Linked DNA regions of Homo sapiens: region 2 is linked to region 1. Evidence: promoter capture Hi-C in 16 types of primary human blood cells and fetal thymus (Javierre and others, 2016). All regions are on one chromosome and are shown on one strand. The core of a region is centred on a gene start or on the middle of the fragment in contact, and the rest is flanking DNA. Distances in the headings are between cores, read along the strand shown.

The links. Contacts are between HindIII fragments. The CHiCAGO score rates a contact against its expected background, and 5 or more counts as called.
Region 2: the fragment with the promoter of RAB40A here is called in contact with a fragment that was not itself captured in region 1 in 12 of 17 cell types (total B cells, total CD4 T cells, naive CD4 T cells and 9 more); the score reaches 14.6 in total B cells.

What each region holds. Positions count from the first base shown.
Region 1 is chrX:103,816,901-103,820,710 of GRCh38, reverse strand. It overlaps a transcript of RAB9B not described here. Among named protein-coding and RNA genes, the nearest start is that of RAB9B, 13 kb to the left of the region's middle. The HindIII fragment of the contact is 2,330 bases long and covers 523-2,852 here.
Region 2 is chrX:103,517,300-103,521,555 of GRCh38, reverse strand. RAB40A (RAB40A, member RAS oncogene family) reads left to right here and starts at 2,067. Exons shown (of 3, transcript NM_080879.3): 1 at 2,067-2,186; 2 at 4,031-4,182. It overlaps LL0XNC01-250H12.3 (a long non-coding RNA gene), which reads right to left. Exons shown (of 6, transcript NR_188440.1): 6 at 3,613-3,908. The HindIII fragment of the contact is 4,467 bases long and covers 1-2,992 here.

The sequences.
Region 1 (3,810 bases), core at 438-2,937:
CCAAAGTTCTGGGATTACAGGTGTGAGCCAATGCACCGGGGCCCATAACTGATATTTTAAAAACAGAATGCCAACTTCCTGTCTTTAATGTTTTTCTGCCTCATTCATAACCCAGTGGGAAATCTCCTCATGATGTCTTAAGAAACAGTACGGTCTCATTTTTTGGAAATGGTTTGGCGATAGTCCTTCCAGAAACAGGAAGGTGTGGAATACATAATTTGTCTTCCATCTTGTAACTGTAGTTTTAAAACACACTGGAAAATCGAGGTATCAATTTGAGTAATTTCAAGCTGGGAGGTGGGATGGACATCTCTACTTTCATTTGAATTACCCAAAGTAGATCTTGCAGCAATTTTTTTTCCTCAGTGATCTAGATAATCATTTCACTTTTTTTCTCTCTTTGCTGTGGAAATGTAAAATTTACTACAGTGCAGTGTTTTTCTTACACTTGATTTTAGGGCAGATAAACTGTAATATACTGTCTTAGCCCATTTGGGCTGCCCTAACAAAATACCATAAGCTTGGTAGGCTATAAACTACAGAATTTCATTTCTCAGCTCTGGAGGCTAGGAAGTCCAAAATCAAGGCATCCGCACATTCAGGGTCTGGTGAGGTCTTGATTTCTGGTTCACAGATGGCACCTTCCAGCTCTGTGGAAGGGGGAAGGGGTTTCTCCTGGGCCTCTTTTATAAGGACACTAATCCCATTTATGAGGGCTTCACCCTTGTGACCTAATCACCTTCCAAAGGCCCCATCTCCTTATAATGCCATAACCTTGGGGGGTTAGGATTTCAACCTATGAATTTTGGAGGGGGACAAAAAGATTCAGAGCATAGCATACACCTTTTGATAAAACGTTAATGTGCATGATTTGGGATATTCACTAATGTTTTCTTTTTCCAAACTGGTCATTTTAATTTCCTCAAGTTTCCATCACCAAAAGAGCTCTCATTCTTTACTACTTTCTCTTTAAGAGAAGGAAGGGATAATGACAAAAGCTAGGCATGTTTATGGAATAAAGGAAAAATTATTAAATGCCTTCTTACTGATATGCTTGCCAAAACTGGTGAGCAAGGATCTCTTATTCTGCTAGTGATGGTAGTGGTAATAATGTGTGAAAGGGTTTTTTTTTAAGGGGGCAAGAAGTTACTTAATATTTTCCCAGTGAAAATAAGCATCTTCACAGCTCAAGATGTGGCGTCGTCACCTGTAGTCATATAGAAACTGCTGCAGTGATCTTTGTGTCTTCATAAATCTCTTTGCCTTCTCCAAGGAAACACAGAGAATGATGATTCAGTTATATATAAATGTCTTTTTAAACAGTGGGTTTTGTGTGTGCAAGCATGTGTATTTTTAAGTAATCTGTCAGTTCCTTTCGTGCTGTATGAACTATGGGTAAATGTATAATGGTCTCACTATAACACTCCTGAATTTTAATCAGACCTGCCAAGCTGTGCCACATCTAGTTAACTGATTGATAAAAAGAATTGGGAAATGCTGCCTTAATGAAAGAAATAGCTCTTAATTCAACATTAGCTATATTGATTAGAGTAAAAATACAAATCACACTTTCCTGTGGTGCATTCATGAGGAAGCAAGAAACAGGCTCATATCATCTCTTTTCTCTTACGTTGTTCCTGGCTGCCTTAGAAACGACATATCCAAGGGTGTGTCCTGTAATATATTGCTCAACATAGAGTCTGTTAATAGATGAACAAGTGCCAGTAGCCTCTGAGTTCTCTCTTTTTCCATTTGTTCCCTGCTAGAAAACTTAGAGTGACCGATAAATGCTTTAAAATGTTCTTTTTTTCTGATTACAAAAGCCATACACATCCACCGTAGAAAAATGAAGTAATGAAAGAAATAGAAAAGCAAGATTTAAAAAATTAAAGTCATCTGTAATGTAATCCTATTAACCTGAGATAAGCAGATTTTAACATTTTAGTGTAGATTTTAATATATTTATGTATTTTTAAAATTGATTTGATACTGCACACACTGTAATCTTTTTTACTTAATATATATCTATAGTACTTAACTTTTCTCTAAGACATATATTCTTCTAAGATTATATTTGCTGTTTGCATAATATTGTATTGAAGGGTTTACCACAATTACCCATATTGCTAAACTTTTAATAAAACACTTATTGCTAGACATTTAGGTTGTTTTACAGCTGCCTTCTTTTCATAAAATAAAGCATCAGTGAAGTTCCTTAATATCAATCTTAACTCTCACCTCTGTTTATTTCCTACTAGTAAAATTTCTAGGTCAAAGATTATGAATTTTTTATTAATTTTAATATATACTGGCAAATTGGCCTCTAGAAACTTATCCCAAATGACATCAACACCAGTAGAATAAGAGGAAGACTATCTTTCCAACACCCAAACGTATGGACTATTATCTTCCTTTTTAACCCCATATGTGCAGTCTGATGGGTGAAAAAATGATCTCATGCTGTCATTTACATTTATTTAATTTTTTGAGAGTAATTGTTTATACATTCATTGGCCATTTTTATTTTTCCTTGAGTGAATGGACCCTTATGGGGGTTGGGGAACATTCATTTTTGTTTCTTATTGATTCCAAGGAAATCTTTTTTTATATTGTGGGTATTAACCTTTGATCTTATCCACATTGCTAGTTTTCTGCAATCCCCTCCCATAGATCTTGCCTTTTAATTTTGTTTATGGTATTTTAAAAATATACTGCCATATTATAGAAAAGGTTATGTTCTGATAAATTAGAAAACTGGTGGGTTGGGGAAAGAGAGGTGCTTATTTGATTTGTCCTTTGTTTCTGATTATACTCGAGACTACTTTTGTTTAGAAAGGTTATGAATCTAAGCTTTGGTCACCATGATAAAAGAATTGCTAGAAATAAAAAATATTCATTCATCCAGATGCTTTAATTGCATGATGTCAAATGACTGGTTTGAATTGAGTCTACTGCTGTAATAATCAGATTATTCTGAAGCCTTGTGTTAAATATAAATGCAGAGATAGAAACAGTTCCACTTTCAACCACAAGGGGGCAATAAAGACCGGTTAGTGTTCCGCCATAGACTAAACTTATATATATGTGTGCATATATATAGTATATATAGAGAGAGTATATATATATATTATATGTATACTTTAATTTCTGGGTTACATGTGCAGAACGTGCACATTTGTAACATAGGTATACACGTGCCATGGTGGTTTGCTGCACCCTTCATCCCATCACCTACATTAGGTAGTTCTCCTAATGTTATCCCTCCCCTAGCCCCCAACCCTTGACAGGCCACAGTGTGTGATGTTCCCCTCCCTGTGTCCACGTGTTCTTATTGTTCGACTCCCACTTATGAGTAAGAACATGCGGCGTTTGGTTTTCTGATCTTGTGATAGTTTGCTGAGAATGATAGTTTCCAGCTTCATCCATGTCCCACAAGAGGACACAAACTCATCCTTTTTCATGGCTGCATAGTATTCCATGGTGTATATGTGCCACATCTTCTTAATCCAGTCTATCATTGATGGACATTTGGGTTGGTTCCAAGTCTTTTCTACTGTGAATAGTGCCACAATAATCATACGTGTACATGTGTCTTTATAACAGAATGATTTATAATCCTTTGGGTACATGTCCTGTAATAGAATTGCTGGGTCAAAAGGTATTTCTAGTTCTAGATCCTTGAGGAATTGCCACACCATCTTCCACAATGGTTGAACTAATTTATACTCCCACCAACAGTGTAAAAGCGTTTCTATTTTTCCACAACCTTTCCAGCATCTGTTGTTTCCTAACTTTGTAATGATTGCCATT
Region 2 (4,256 bases), core at 818-3,317, 300 kb after region 1:
AATCTATAGATCAGTTTTGGAAGAATTGACATCTTAACAATACTGAATCTTCTCAGTATTGTTTGTGACCCATGAGCATGGTAAGTCCTCCACTTATTTAGGTCTTTAATTCTCTCAGCAATGATGTGTGGTGTTCAGTGTACAGGCACTGCACATCTGTGGACAGATTGTTCATAAATATTTCATACTCTTGATGATGCTATACATGGCTTTGTTTGTTAAACACAATTGCTAATTACTATATTTTCACAGTACTATCAGCAACCAAGTGTTTAACATCAGTGAGGCATTTTTTTGGTTGAAAGCACAGCTTACTCTAGGATGGAAAAGGTATTTGATCCTTAACCTGTGTTTACCTGTATTTCCGTATCTGCTTTTACAAGTCATTGGCGATATATTGAAACTATGGAGGAAAATGTTCCAGAGACAATTCTACAGGTCATCTTCAGAAATCACACCAAAAGAACATAGTTTAGTAGCTTTCAACTTTATATGTGTGGTCAGAAATGATTTTGTTGCAATGTGTGGCTCAGGCTGGAGTGCAATGGTGCAATCATAGCTCACTGCAGCCTTGAACTCCCAGGCTCAAGCAATCCTCTCACCTCAGCCTCCTGAATAACTGACTACAGGTGTGTGCCCCCATGCTCAGCTAAACTTAAAAACATTTTTCAGAGACAGAGTTTTGCTATGTTGTTTAGACTTCTCTCACACTCCTAACCTCAAGCAATCCTCCTACCTCAGCCATCTGAGTAGCTGGGATTATAGCCACGAGCCACCATGCCTGGCGAGATTTACTTCTTTACCCACCAGTAAATCAACCTCAATAAATTCTTGGAATTTGGAGTGGTGAGAGGGTGAGCAAGCATATATGTATGTGAGTATGTATACATTTGTATGTCACTGAAGCTGTCAGGAATTTTTATTGTAAGGACTACTTGAGGTTAATTACTGTGCATCATGTCAATCCTATTTAGTTCCTAGTACATATTAGGAACAAGCTCGGGATAGTGGTGTTTGTTTTTTCTCAGCTTTCCTTGGCCAGAATGGTTACCATGGTGACTCAGTGACTGCGGTGTGATTTGGTGCAGACTGAGCATCCATTTAGGATTCTTGCCCGAATCTCTCACACCACATTGCCTGTCCATCAGATATAGTATTAGCTTTTCATCTTATGTGTAATTAATCACTTTTCAAGGGCTCAGAAGAAAGTTGCTTCACTTATCTGAGGTTAAGCTACAGATAACATAAAAAGACACTAAGTACCTTGAAATAAAAGGAAATGAGTTGTTGATATTCCTCTCCTGCCCCAATCTCTATTGGGAGGTTAGAAGAGAAATTCTTGGAATCATACAGCATGTGCTCTTTTGTGTCTTGCTTCTTTCAGTCAACATAATGTATGTGAAATTAATATTTATTGTGGTCTATATTGTAGATTGCTTATTCTCATTGGTGTAAAGTATTATATTATTTGGATATTTCACACTATATTTATCTGTGATGGAGATTTGTGTATTTTCCAGTTTTTGACATCTCATGAATAATGGTGTTATGAATGTTCATGTTCATTCTTTTGGATGAACATATATTTTCTTTTTTAAAAAAATCTTATTATCAATAATATTTGAACTATTTAATATCTGTCATCTTAAAATTATTATTCATAACACTTTTTACCTTGTAGCTATAGACAAATACATTCCCATTTTAGCAGGTTAATGAAATTATCTTTATAATACTATAGAAGCATTTATTTGAAGAATACCAGAAGGAACATCCTGAAAACCAAGAACTCAAAATGCCTTTTTATCCCAAAGACATGTTTTACAAATATATACCCATTCATCCATTTGTTTTCACAAATGAAGCTACAGAGAACTTTGAATATAATGATGTGCAGCAGGGGCTTATTCCTAACATATTTAAAATTTAGGTCAACCAAACTTCTCTGTGGAAACTGAGTTGAAATCCGAAATCTTACAATCCTAATTTCGAGCCACATTCATTTTAACTTAATTTTAACATGTTTTGCAAAATGTTCCAATATAAACTTAATAGTTCCTATACCACCAAACATGGATCCTCATGATTTTATTTTCTAGATTGGCTGATAGGCTGAATAATCTCCTGTAGGGTAAGAAGTGTCAACTGTATCAAGCACATGGAGGTGGACTGGCTACAGGAGAAAGGTTTTCCAAATCAAATTCCAAGTATTTCTTTCTCTTTTTATATTACCATTAGGAGAAATAACTAATGTAGATGACGGGTTGATGGGTGCAGCAAACCACCATGGCACGTGTATACCTATGTAACAAACCTGTACATTCTCCACATGTATCCCAGAACTTAAAAGTATAATAAAAAAATTTAACAAAATGGTGTTAGATTCAGAGGCTTGATTCAATTTAGATTTGTTTTGGTCAGAAGTACTTCATATGTGGTATTGTTTATTCCTATAGTGTTACACAGGGGGCTCATTGTGTCTAATTGTCTCTCCTCTTGTGATGTTAAGATTAATTACTATGTTCAAGTATTGTTAAGCTGATCCATCCATTATAAAATTTCCCATCCCTTTTTCACCTCGATTTTTCTGCAGCGTCTAAGGATTGTTGCTTAGTTCTATATTCATTAAAGGTCATAAAAGGATGATATTCTAATTCTATAATTTTCTCTGCTTTATTAGCTGGAATTATTCTATTAAATAAACTTTCATAAACCATTAGGTTACACTGAGGGATAGTATGTATAGAAAGGGTTGGATGAGTGCCTAATTCTTTTGCAATATTTCCACTTTTCAAAACAATGAGTTGTTTCCCTAGGGTTCTCCAAAGGCAAGCAATGAGTTGATATTGTTTGTTTTATTTTATTTTTCTTTTAGAGTGTCATCATGAGCTGTAGAAGTTTTTATATTATAATGTGTTTTAATCCATAGTAGTCATTATTTTATTTAATGTTCAAATTGCTTCATCTTTGTCCAGCGAGAGCCCCTTAAGCTTGGCTTCTGAGTCTTTTTGACGCACTCTCTGGCATGATAGTTTGGTCCAGATTCATCTAGTAGAATGGCTACACAGACCTAAACTCAGTCATTTCTCTAAGATAACCTAGTTCCTTTCAGTGTGATGTGTTTTAAGTGGATTCAATATGGGCACTAGAGTTGCTCATTGCTACTGGGTCTATCATGTTTCTTCACCTTTCTAGTGCATGGAGCCAGTGTATATATATTATATTTTTAAGGGAAAAGACATTATTGGCTTCTGTCCTGGGCTGTTTTTCCTTCTCTTTATAGGTAATGATTTTTTAAATCAATTTTCATTAAAACTTTCCAATTTTAAAAATATAAGCAAATAGAATGTTTCTATTAGTTTTCTCCTATTCCATATATATAAGGTGACATATTCTACACTGGTGGAGTCCAATAGAATTTCTACAAAGGTGAAAATATTCTATGTCTCAACTGTCCAACATAGTAGCCACTAGCTACCTGTGACTATTAAACACCTAAAATGTGGTGAGTGTGACTGAGGAAGTGAATTTAAAATTCCATTTAAATTTAGTTAACTTAAATAGCCATGAGTGGCCAGTGGGTATGGTATGGGACAACAGCAGCTCTACACATTTTTCTGCACTTTGCTTTATTCACTTAATGGTATATCCTGGAAATCACTACATAGCAGCAGAGAGAGGGAATCTTCCTTGCTTGTTATACCGGCATTGAAATCTAGGATGTAGATGCACCTTAGATTATTCAGTCAGTCCTTTATTGGTGGACATCTGTCTTATTTCCAGTCTTCTGCTGTTACAATTTGTTCTGCCAAGAATGACCTTGTGCTTCTGCCTTTTTATCTTTTTGAATTGTATCTTTGGGATACATTCTCCGAAGATTGTTGGTTCCAAGATAAAATAATTGTGCCCTATGAAATAGAAGATTTGAAACAGAGAGCATTTAGAAATATAGTAGCAATAAATGAATGTTGGTTTTATCTTATCATTCCTTTGATTCCATGTACTCTCTGCTCTCTTATTTTCTTTCTAGTGTGACGTGGGTGAAGGAGTTCTTATTGAGCCATGGGAGGAAGAAATAGTACAGAAGAGCAAAGAATAATAATGAGTCAGCTAGACAGAAGACAGGAGTCATCAGATTTGTACCCTAGTTACTCGACCCATCAACTGACTGTGGTTTTTGGGGTGAGTCTCTTCCCTCTGTTGGCCTCTGGTCTAACACAGAAGGATACTCAGTATAGAAATAGTGGTTAGGGGAG